Regions from separate parts of the Homo sapiens genome. Here region 2 is linked to region 1. Evidence: promoter capture Hi-C in human tissues and cell types (Jung and others, 2019). All regions are on one chromosome and are shown on one strand. Each heading gives the region's core, a stretch centred on a gene start or on the middle of the fragment in contact. The rest is flanking DNA. Distances are from core to core; before and after follow the strand shown. Region 1 holds the start of LSG1 (large 60S subunit nuclear export GTPase 1). Region 2 has its middle 44 kb from the start of XXYLT1-AS1.

Evidence for each region. The method cuts DNA at HindIII sites, captures the fragments that hold promoters and counts their contacts. A contact is called where the count stands out against the background at its distance.
Region 2: a contact is called between a fragment that was not itself captured here and the fragment with the promoter of LSG1 in region 1, in 1 of the 25 tissues and cell types used here (lymphoblastoid cells).

What each region holds. Positions count from the first base shown.
Region 1 is chr3:194,668,830-194,675,214 of GRCh38, reverse strand. It overlaps LSG1 (large 60S subunit nuclear export GTPase 1), which reads left to right and starts at 3,024. Exons shown (of 14, transcript NM_018385.3): 1 at 3,024-3,151; 2 at 5,080-5,206. The coding sequence starts at 3,053. LOC124909474 reads left to right here. Exons shown (of 3, transcript XM_047449428.1): 3 at 1-1,551. RefSeq lists an enhancer at 1-718. The HindIII fragment of the contact is 4,871 bases long and covers 1-3,186 here.
Region 2 is chr3:195,047,271-195,053,655 of GRCh38, reverse strand. No RefSeq gene overlaps it. Among named protein-coding and RNA genes, the nearest start is that of XXYLT1-AS1, 44 kb to the left of the region's middle. The HindIII fragment of the contact is 4,889 bases long and covers 2,691-6,385 here.

The DNA of each region.
Region 1 (6,385 bases), core at 1,775-4,274:
TTGCTCCACCCTCCGTCACCACCATCATCACTCCCCCACGATCTTACCTCCTTCCTTTTAATCTGGGTCCCATGATCTTGTCTCATCAACACCTTCAATTCCTTTCCTCCTTGTCCTTCTCACTGAACAGTTATCCAGCTGGGCTTTCACCGTCATTGCTTAGTTTTTGGGGAAAGAAAACGTGTTCAGCTGTGCCAGATGATACCCCCACAAATTACTAGGCAATCACCTTGCAGCATTATCTCATTTGTTACCTCTTCAGGGCAGGAATTGTTATTAGCCTCATTAACCAGATGAGAAGACTGAGACTCAGTTGTCTGTCATCGGTAGATTTTCGTAACGTCTTGGGAGAAATATTAGGATTATCTATCCTTTTCTTGTCAGCTAGGAGTAGTTGCTGCTAATTAAATCTTTATGACCTTTTGACTCCTCACCACTCCTGATTATCACTTTGGTTTATTTGGTTAAGTTTTTTTTTTTTTTTTTGGAGACGAAGTTTCGCTCTTGTTGCCCAGGCTGGAGTGCAGTGGTGCGATGTGGGTTCACTGCAACCTCTGTCTCCCGGGTTCAAACAATTCTCCTGCCTCACCCTCCCGAGTAGCTGGGATTACAGGTGCATGCCACCACACCGGGCTAATTTTTCTATTTTTAGCAGAGACGGGGTTTCATCATGTTGGCCAGGCTTGTCTCCAAACTCCTGACCTCAGGTGACCCACCCGCCTCAGCCTCTCAAAGTGCTGGGATTTCAGGCGTGAGCCACCACGCCTGGTCTTATTTGGTCAAGATTTTTTAAGCCCTTAGAAAAGTAACAGTGGAAAACCAAAGTGTTTATTTTCTCCAGAGGTGACAAAATCTGGAAAAAGAAACTAGATGAAGTCCCAAGTTCCTGGTTGAGCTCTAGGAATGAGATGGTGAGTTTCTTTATCTCACCTCCTAGTATTATTATTAAAATGTGAAATCTTACTTCATGAGTTAGTTTGACCTTTAACCACTTAGCTCTGGAGAGAATGCCGGGAGCTGTCTGCTAATTCTATTTCGTGGGTCTTCTTCATATCTTACTTCTGGAGATTATGTGTAGGATTTTAAAGATACACTGTTTCTAAATTGAGAAATGGGAGAAATGATGTTCTGATGCATTCCTTTGCTCATCTGTGAGCACTGCCTTCTCAAAGCGTTGCCAACTGCTTCACAGCTTGCCAGCAGTCCCTTGGGCATTTCCCAAAACTCACTTCAATTCAGTAAGAGGGGTAAGGTGCAGCACACAGAAACCCTGGCAGGGAATTCAGAATGGGTGGGAGTCTGGACCCAGTTTCGCCTGATGCTAACTTGCTATGACTGACCTTTAGCCAGTCCACTTCTGTGTCTTCATTTGCACCAGGAAAGAGTGGACTACGCTTGCTACTCAAAGTGTGACCCAAGGACCAGTACTATGGGTATCACCTGGAAGCTTGTTAGAGCCACAGGCCTCACCCCAGAGCTTATGAATCAGAATCTGCATGTTAACAAGATTCCCAGGGGATTTATATGCACATTAAAGTGTGAAAAGCCCTAGGTTAAACAGATTCTTGATCCTATTTATTTCTTTTTGGCTGTTGTTTTAATTGACAACTAAAAATTGTTTATTACTTACGTTGTACCGCATAATGTTTTGATATATGTGTACATTGTGGAATGGCTAAATCAAGCTATGCTAGGTAATATATGCATTACCTCGATCCTATGATTTAAAAATACATGTTTGGCCAGGCGCAGTGGCTCATACCTGTAATCCTAGCACTTTGGGAGGCCGAGGCGGGCGATCACCTGAGGTCAGGAGTTCGAGACCAGCCTGGCCAAAATAGTCAAACCCTGTCTCTACTAAAAATACAAAAATTAGCTGGGTGCGGTGGCACGTGTCTGTAATTCCCGCTACTCGGGAGGCTAAGGCAGGAGAATCACTTGAACCCGGGAAGCAGAGGTTGCAGTGAGCCGAGATCATGCCTTTGCACTCCACCTGGGGGACAGCGAGACTCTGTCTCAAAAGATAAAAATAAATAAATAATACATGTTAACAACCCTCATTCCCCACTCTCCCCAGGGGTGTACAGGCTAGTGACAAGACTTGGGTTTATTCCTGACACTGCACGCACTCAATCTACGACTTGCTCAAGCTGCTTCCTCTCTCCAAGCATCAAAACAAAGAGATGGTTCTCTGGATCAATGAGAATGTAGTTCACCAGCCACTCTAAGCTGACTTTCTATTATTCCCATTATAGGGAAATCAAACATTCAAGTGAGGAACAAAAGCCCAGGCCTCTAGGAGTGGAGCTGGCTCACTGTTTTCACTTTCATTTTAATTATTTTTAAAAAGGGTAATGAAAATATAATTAGAACTGTTTAAACATTTTTTTTTTCTTTGAAATAAAGCGTAAGTCACTTCCTGTTGGCTTTTCCTACAACCTTGCCAAGCTCTGGAAATACTATTCAGCCTCTCATTCCAAATTCACATCCAGGCGAAGACTTTTCTCCCCAGTTCGCAGCTGGGGTCGGCTAGATAAACAAAAAGTTAGTTGCTGTGCTGGACCTCGGAGAGACCACACCTCGGGACGCCAGCAGAAAACCAGCGCTGGGAAACGCCCCCGTCCCAGCGCCACCGAAACACTCTTCCTCCGAGTCTCCGCGTCCTCCTGACGGAAGCAGCGGAAGGCGGAGCTAGTGCCGCGAATAGGAACCGCCATGTTTCCGACGTGCTCTAGTTTCTCGCCGGACGCTAAAGACCGACGCACAAATTAAGAATGGACCATTCTTTTAACTCAGTCATTTATCCAAACTCGAGACATTCGCCAGGAAATCTATCGAAAATTTCCCAGAACCATTTTTTCACTTATATTCTATAATACTGGTAAAATCGAGACGTAAAAGGAGAACTTGAGAACAAGTCATTCTGCTTTCCCCTCTCAAGTTTGAGCCTGAACTACTTGGGCTCGCTTATCGTCACTTCCGGGGATCGAACTGTGAATCCCGGAAACTGCACGCGCCGAGCCGGGAAGCTTCGTCCAGCGGTCGTGTTGCCATGGGCCGGAGGAGAGCCCCGGCCGGTGGGTCGCTGGGACGGGCCCTTATGCGCCATCAGACTCAGCGGAGCCGAAGCCATCGTCACACTGACTCCTGGGTAAGACAGACCATGTCATCTTTCTTATCTTTTCTGTCTAGCCTGAGTGCTGCAAAATTCGGGGTCAAAAGTCAGATAAGTTTTGCAGGAGGGACGCCTCAGCCGGGTTTTGAAGGATGAGTTGGAGTTTCTGCCAAGCTGAGTAGCAGGCCCTCCTCCTGGCAAGGCCCAGAACACAAAGGTAGGAGAAGCTTGAAAGAAGAGTTAGTGTGGTGATGAGGCGTGGAGTGAGAATCTGAAGAGTCTTCAATGCCAGGTCTTGAGTACGTTTGGGTTTTGCCCTAGAAGCCACTGAAGTGCTTGGAACTTCCAGAGCAGGAAAAAGACAAAACGTATTTTTGTATTGATTTGTTCAAAGAATGGATCCTCCAGAAGCGGTTGGTTACTGCCAGAAATATAAAATAATTCAGATCCTTGCCTCATCCTTGCGAAGCACCCCCTAGTGGTTTAGCTCAAAGATAAATCATTGATTTTTCAGGTGTGACAAGACCTAATATTTTACTAGGTTATAGAAGGATCTTTAAAAAAATGAATGAAGTGATTTGGCTTGTGTTCATCATTCTAGTCGTTATTTTCACCATTCATTCCCCCGGGAATGAATGAGAACATGTTGAGTGCTAAGATCGTGTGCTAAATTTAGTTAAATATGTCCCTGGAGCTAAGTAAGCGTGTGCCACTGTCACACCAGCTGACTTTCATCCATATAGTCTGCAGAGTAAACAGCATGGAGTGCTTATCAGTATTCATCAGGTCAGAGTTACTCTGGACATTAGATTACTGGTAATTTTTATTAGCTTTGAAGCAACTTGTTACTAATGAAGCCTTTTAGGAAACTGTGGGAAGATTGAACATGAATGGTAAAGAATTGGATCCTAATTCCTTATTTTTGCTGATTCTATGCCCACTTAAACTTTTGGCCCTTAATATTTATTTAGGAAATTCATTCATCATTCAGTTATTCATTTTTAGAGACAGGGTCACACTCTGTCACCCAGGCTAGAGTGCCAGTGGTGTGATCATAACTCACCAATTCACTACAGTCTCAAACTTCTGGGCACAAATAATCCCCCTGCCTCAGTCTCTTGAGTAGCTGGCATTACAGGTGCACACCATCAGGCCTGGTTGTTTGGTTTTGTTTGTTTGTTTTGGAGAGACAGGGTCTTGCTGTGTTGCCCAAGCTGATCACAAACTCCTGGCCTCAAGCAATCCTCCTGCCTTAGCCTCTTGAGGAGCTGGGGTTACAGGCACAAACCACCACGCCTGGCAATTTTTTTTTATTTGTATCTATACTAAGTATATAGCTTAGGGTGATGGTTATCAAACTCTGGGTTGTGTCTGGAAGTCAATTTAGTGGTCTGCAGCTAGCTGTTTTGTTTTGTTTTTATTTTTTCCCCAGCAAGATAGAGAAATATCAGAATGTTGCATGTAATAGGGTGTGGTTTCAGTATTCTTCTATTGCCATTTTACTGTACTGAACGGTACTTGAATGCTTGTATCATTATATGTACATACACCTTTGGGTCACTATGTAAAATGTATTTCTTATTGTGGGATTATATCAAATAAAGTTTTGACTAATTTTGACTAGCACAGTCAGACAATCTGGGTTCAAGTTCTACCTGTGCCATTTAGATTTTGACTATAGGCAAGTTATTTTATCTGCTGAAGCCTTAGTTTCATCATCAGTAAAATGGAAATACAGTAAAATTCACCTCAAAAGATTTTGAAAATTAATGAAATGGTGAAAGGGAACTGCCTATTGTGAGGTAAGAACGTGTTCCTTTAAACATTAACTATAAGTAGTATTGATTCTAAAGGGACTACAACCACCCTCAAGACCATAGACTAGTTGCAAGGAATTTTAGAGCTTATTGGATGCCAAGAGCAGAAGAGAGCAGCTGTATTTATCACCCTGTGTTTTTTCATAGTTGCACACAAGTGAACTCAATGATGGCTATGATTGGGGTCGTCTTAATCTTCAGTCAGTGACTGAACAGAGCTCCCTTGATGACTTCCTTGCTACTGCAGAACTTGCAGGAACAGAGTTTGTAGCTGGTAAGTTGTTTATTGCTGAGTGCAGGTGAGACTGTCACATTTCCATCTGGGGCTGAGGTTTTTTTTGTTTTTTGTTTTGAGATGGAGTCTCGCTCTGTCACCCAGGCTGAAGTGCAGTGGCGTGATATCAGCTCACTGCAGCTCCGCCTCCTGGGTTCAAGCAATTCACCTGCCTCAGCCTCCCAAGTAGCTAGGACTACAGGCACGCACTGCCACGCCTGGCTAATTTTTGTATTTCTAGTAGAGATGGGGTTTCACCATGTTGGCCAGGATGTTCTTGATCTCCTGACCTCGTGATTCGCCTTCCTTGGCCTCCCAAAGTGCTGGGATTACAGGTGTGAGCCACCGTGCCCGCCCTGAGTCTTGAACAATGAGTAGATGTTCAAAGGACAGATGAGATAAGACCTTTTACACAGACAGGCAGAGGACTCGAGCCCAGATGTGAAGCAGCAGCCAACTTTGTTCAGAAAATGGCTAGAAGTTTGGCTTTGCTGGTGCAGGGGGCGGGATGTGATGAGCACAGGTGCTGAGGAGGTGGGCAAGGGCCAGATTCTGGAGAGAACAAAGGTTTAAGGCTTTACAGGGCTTTAAGCACGTGTACAACATGATTTCAGATTTCATTGTTTAGTGTTTTTTGGGGGGATGTGTGGGTTCCAGCTTTAATGAGCTACACAATTGGCAACTAAAAATTGTATATAGTTATAGTATATAGTGTGACGTTTGGTTATATGTATATATTGTGAAATGATTACTAAAATCAAGTAATTAACGTATCCATCACCTCACATTGTTTTTTTGTGTGTGCGGTGAGAACAAGATATATACTGTCTTAGCAAATTTCATATTATTAACTAATAAATGTGTTATTATTAACTATGGACACCAGGCTGTACATTAGACCTCCAGAACTTATTCATCCTGCCTCAGTAAAACTTTACCGTTTGACCAGTATCCTCCTATTTGCCCCACTCCCTAATCTCTGGTAACCACCATTTTCTCTCTGCTTCTATGAGCTCGGCTTTATTCCACGTATAAGTGAGATCATGTGGTATTTGTCTTTCTGTGCCTGGGTTATTTCTCATAGCAGAGTGGTTCATTCATATTGTCACAAGTGTCAACATTTCCCTCTTTTGTAATGCTGAATAGTATTCCATTGTATACTACATATACCACGTTTTC
Region 2 (6,385 bases), core at 3,886-6,385, 380 kb before region 1:
AAAAAAAAATTGAATAACATGGTTGAACAACGAATTAGAGGAATTCTGTAAGAAAGGAGAGGGGAAAAGACAAAAGTGAAAAATAGGGGAAAAATATATTTTCAGAAATTAGAAGTTTCAACATCTGCCCAGTGTAAGTTCTAAGTAATTTGGAGGATAGTACCAAAGAAATCATGTAAGAAAAGTTGCTAGAACTGGAAGACAGAAATGCACAGTACAAAGAAGGTAAAAAGGCTGACCTCAATGCAATCAATGTGAAATTTAAGAATATCAGACAAAAAGAAAATCCTAGAAACTCCAGTCAAGTGTGAGATAAGAATGAAGACACAGCACACAAACTCTTAGAACATTTGCCTCCTTTCTCGGAAAGCTTCAGGAGGAAAGCGTCACCATTGCAAGGAAGTAAACCAAGAAAAAAGAATGCACAAGATCCAGGAAGCAGGGGGCTAATGGAGCCAGGAATTGAAGGGGATGCTCGGCTGTGCAGCAGGCTGGGAGAGCGGCAGTGCAGATGGGAGTGGGAGGTGGGAGCGGGAGGTGGGAGGGGTTTGGAGGGAAGTGGAACTGACAAAGTAGTGACATACTTGACCATGCGAATAACTGACAGGCCTTAGAGGGTGCAGGGAGAGCTAGCCAGAGAGTAAAACAGCAATAACCACAACAACAAAAAGTAAGCAAATAAAAATTATTGACTCCAGAAAAAAAGGTTTAAAGAAAGAATATGCATTTGCTGGGCCCATCAATGAAAATATTAACTTAATCCTATCAGTGAAATACTACTACAGATTTTTTTTTAAAACTTGAAGTGCAAAGAGGGAAATAGATGATGTAAAATATCTCAAATCATTATTTACTATAATAAGAAGTTAACAGATAATATATTAAATCGAGGCTGGGCATGGTAGCTCACACCTGTAATCCCAGCACCTTGGGAGGCTGAGGCAGGTGGATCAGTTAAGGCCAGGAGTTCGAGACCTGCCTGGCCAACATGGCAAAACCCAGTCTCTACTAAAAATACAAAAATTGTCCGGGCATGGTGGTACGTGCCTGTAATCCCAGGTACTCGGGAGGCTGAGGCAGAGAATCGATTGAACCTGGGAGGCAGAGGCTGCAGTGAGCCGAGACTGTGCCACTGCACTCCAGCCTGGGCGACAGAGCGAGACTCCATCTCAAAAAAAAAAAAAAATTACACACACACACACACATTTATATAAAATTGATTGTAAAAAGGCTAGCAAGATATGCATGCTGTTTAGAAATATGGAGATAAATAGGTAAATCCTGGAAGGAAACAAATGAAAAGAGATTGTTTCTGAAGAGGTGTGGGGAAGATAGATAAGATACTCCTGCTTTTTAAAAATAAGCTTTTTAGCACTGTTTGGGTTTTTAAAAAATTATTTCTATGTGACGCTTAGACAAAAAATAAGAAAGCACTGATACATGATATTTAGAGCCTCTGGACTAATTGAAATCCTTAAGAAGAGAGTGTAAATAGTGAGAAGAGGGCCCAGGACCAAACTCCGAACACTCCAACATTCACACACTGAGCTGAAAAGGAGGAGGAATTAGCAAAGGAGATTGAAGTAACAGGGGAACAACAAAGTGAAGGGGCCAGAAGAACCGAGAGAAGAAAGTTGCTCAAGAAGAAAGTGGTGCTTAACTGAATACTGTTGACCCTGGAAAGCAAAATAGGACTGAAATTATTCAGGATACATGAATGCAATGGAATTAAATATGTCGTGAACTGAAGATAATCTACATGATTACCTCCACAGATGTAGAAAAGGCTTTCAGAAAAGTCAACATCCCTTCATGTCAAAAACTCACAATAAACTAGGTATTGAAGGAATGTACCTCAAAATAATAAGAGCCATCTATGTGACAAACCCACAGCCAACACCATACTGAACAGGGAAAAGCTGGAAGCATTTCCCTCGAAAACCTGCAGAAGACAAGGATGCCCTCTCCCACCACTCCTATTCAACATATTGAAAGTCCTGACCAGGGCAATCAGGCAGGAGAAAGAAATAAAGGGCATCCAAATAGGAAGAGGGGAAGTCAAACCAACCCTGTTTGCAGATGACATGATTCTACATCTAGAAAACCTTATACTCGCAGCCCAAAAGCTCATTCCACTGGTAAACAACGTCAGCAAAGTTTCAGGATAAAAAATGAATGTACGAAAATTACGAGCATTCCTATACACCAACAACAGCCAAGCTGAGAGCCAAGTCAGAAAGGCAATCCCATTCACAATTGCCACAAAAAGAATAAAATACCTAGGAATATAGCCAACCAGAGAGGTGAAAGATCTCTACAATGAGAATTACAAAACACTGCTCAAAGAAATCAATTACAAAACACTGCTCAAAGAAATCAGAGATGACACAAACAAATGGAAACACATTTTATGTTCATGACTAAGAAGAACCAATGTCATTAAAATGGCCATACTGCCCAAAGCAATTTATAGATTCAATGCTATTCTTATCAAACTACCAACAACATTCTTCACAGAACTAGAAAAAAGTATTTTAAAATTCATATGGAACCAAAAAAAGAGCCCGAATAGCCAAGGCAATCCTAAGCAAAAAGAACAAAGCTGGAGACATCACATTACCCAACTTCAAACTATACTACACGGCTATACTACAAACTATACTTCACCAAAACAGCATACTACTGGCACGAAAACAGACACAGACCAATGGAATAGAACAGAGAGCCCAGAAATATGGCCACACATTTACAACCATCTGATCTTCAGCAAAGCTGACAAAAACAAGCAATGGGAAAAGAACTCCCTATTCAATAAATGGTACTGGGATAACTGGCTAGCCATATGCAGAAGACTGAAAATAGACCCCTCCCTTACATCACATACAAAAATCAGCTCAAGATGGACTAACGACTTAAATATAAAACCCAAAACTATAAAAACCCTAGAAGACAACCGAGGCAATACCATCCTGGACATAGGAACAGGCAAAGATTTCATGGCGAAGATGCCAAAAGCAATCGCAACAAAACAAAAATTGACAAAAGGGATCTAGTTAAATTTAAGAGCTTCTGCACAGCAAAAGAAACTATCAACAGAGTAAACAGTTTACAGAATGAAAGAAAATGTTTGCAAACTATGCATCTGACAAAGGTCTAATATCCAGCATCTATAAGGAACTTAAACGAATTTATAAGAAAAACACAAACAAAAAAGTGGCAAAGGACATGAACAGACACTTTTCAAAAGAAGACATACACGGGGCCAAACAGCACTTGAAAAAAAGCTCAACATCACTGATCATTAGAGAAATGCAAATCGTACCAGTCAGAATGACTATTATTAAAAAGTCAAAAAAGAACAGATACTGGCAAGGTTGTGGAGAAAAGAAGACTTTTTTTTTATACATTGTTGATGGGAGTGTAAATTAATTCAACCATTGTGGAAAGCAGTGTGACGATTCCTCAAAGAGCTAAAAGCAGAACTCCCATTCGACCCAGCAATCCCATTACTGGGTATATACCTAGAGGAACAGAGATCATTGTATTATAAAGACGCATGGCCCTGACTGTTCATTGCAGCACTACTCACAATAGCAAAGACATAGAACCAGCCTAAATGCCCATCAGTGACAGATTGGATAAAGAAAACGTGGTACATACACACCATGGAATACTATGCAGCCAAAAAAAAAAACAGAAGGAGACATGTCTTTTGAGGAAACATGGATGGAGCTGGAGGCCATTATCCTTAACAAACTCATGCAGGAACAGAAAACCAAATACCCCATGTTCTCACAAGTGGGAGATAAATGATGAGAACACATGGACGCAAAGAAGGGAACGAGACACTGGGGTCTACCTGAGGGTGGAGGGTGGGAGGAAGAGAGGAGCAAAAAAGCTAAGTGCTTGATACTAGGCTTAGTGCCTACGTGATGAAATAATCTGTACAGCAAACCCCCATGACATGAGTCTATATAACAAACTTGCACATGTTCCCCTGAACCTCAAATAAAAGCTTTTTTTTTTTTTTTTAAGAATTAAAGATCGTTTTAAACTGTGTGCTTCAGACATAGCTAAGTCAGACTGGTCTCCTTCCCTAGTATAGACTTACAGGAGTTGACTGTCATTATTTCACTGTGATCGCCTTTCAACTCCTGCTTCCAGTATAGAAGAACTTTTTCCTTTGTGTTCCAAATCTACCTTGAGCTGGAGCCACCTCATATTGGGAAAGCTGATTATTAATTTTTCAAGAATTTTGTGATCCAGTTGTTCAAAACAACCATTATTAAAAATTAAATTGGCTGGGCGCGGTGGCTTATGCCTGTAATCCCAGCACTTTGGGAGGTCAAGGTGGGCGGATCACAAGGTCAGGAGTTCGAGACCAGCCTGGCCAATATGGTGAAACCCTGTCTCTACCAAAAATACAAAAATTAGCCGGGCATGGTGGCAGGTGCCTGTAGTCCCAGCTACTCAGGAGGCTGAGGCAGGAGAGTCACTTGAGCCCGGGAGGCAGAGCTTGCAGTGAGCCAAGATTGTGCCACTGCACTCCAGCCTGGGCAACAGAGCAAGACTCCATCTCAAAAATAAATAAATAATTAAATTAGATAAACCATCAATTAGATCCTAAAAACAAAGGTAGTCAATATTCAAAATACATCAATTATTAATTATCATCCTACATTTTACTATAATCTATGCCCTTGAGGTTATCTGTATGTGTATGGTAGAAATACTATATGAGAGTGTGCTACTATCCATCTTTTCCCAGTTCCACATCAGTGACATCACGTTGGTAACTTAAAATTGTGGGAATAGTAACACCATGGAAATTGGCAAATGGCACAAGCCAGGGCTTTTTGTTCCGGAGAGCAAGTGGTTAATCAGCATATCACTGCTGATGCAATCCTTTGCCTGTTTCCCTTGAACGTACAGGTGAGTGGATAGGAAGCTGTTTGGTGTCTGGTTGGTTGATCGGATGACTGGACGGATGGGCGATGGATTGATTGTATGGCTGGAGGCTGCTTCCCTTTCTGACAGTCACTGGACCCTAAAGACCATGTCCCCAGTGCATGAAACAGCAGAGCAGCACGAGGATGGCCTGACTTTAGATGGTCAGCCAAAGGCCTATTCTTAGCTGAAACCCAGTATCAGTCTGCTCACTCTTGCCTAAGTATAGGAAGTGGACAGCTTGCTTTGAGAAGTGGGGCAACATATCCACCTAAATGTTGCTGGAATAAGTAAAGCATTCCCTGCAGAGGAAAGGGACACCTTTATTCTCTTCGTGTCTGCAGGTGGCTTTGGTGCCAAGCTGTCCCCTGCCTGCTTCTGTTTTCACCCCCAGCCCCAGTGCTGCAGGCTGATGGGGCTCCTTCTCCACTGACTCGCGTTTCCTCATATTCATGGAGCTCTGCCGGCAGCTAGGCTGAGGGAGGAGCTGGGCATACAGCTCTGGCCATACAGAAGGTGCTGGTAAGAAACGGAGGCAGAGAGCAGTGCAACAGGATGCAGAGGGACCGGCACTATCAGGAGTGAGAGAGGTGAGAATGGCAGTGGGGTGGTGTGTGCGACCTCCTTCCACGGGAGCAGCAAGACGAGGCACCATGGACTCATTTGTATCTGCCGCCTCTTGTCCAAGCAGCTGTTGGAAAACAACTAACACCATTTTCTAGGACCCTTGAAAGGGAGGAGGTTGGGTTCCAGCCCCAGCTCTGCTTCTGATACCCTGTGTGACTCTGAGTATATTAATTCGCCACTCTGGGCCTCAATTTCCCATCTATAAAATAATTATGAGCTTAGATCAGTATCCCCATGTTAAAGGATACTTACTCTGTGGTCAAAAAAGTTTCTTGGGCAAATGTTTAAGAAACACTCCATTCACACTGGATCCCCTTCTTGGGGATTCTTAGTGCTCCTCAGTGCATTAAAGGCTCTGATCAGTCCTGCAGGAGAGGGCCATGTTTATTTTTAACCTAGCATGTCCCAAATGTATTTATCCACAGAAACCTTTTGAGACAATTGCTGTTCTGGAGTATCTCAGAATCGAGGTCCCTTTCAACTCTCTCATCTGTTCTGGTTTTATGGACTGTAAGACAGAAACGTCCTCCATGTGAGGAGTGCCTTGGAGGAGAGAGATGGACCATGTAAAGATGGAGGGAGTGGCCAGGCATGGAGGCTCATACCTGTAATCCCTGCACTTTGAGAGGCCAAGGTGGGTGGATCACGAGGTGGAGATCGAGACCATCCTGGCCAACACGGTGAAACCCCGTCTCTACAAAAAATACAAAAATTAGCTGGGCATGGTGGTGCGTGCCTGTAGTCCCAGCTACTCGGGAGGCTGAGGCAGGAGAATCGCTCCGACCCGGGAGGCAGAAGTTGCAGCGATCCA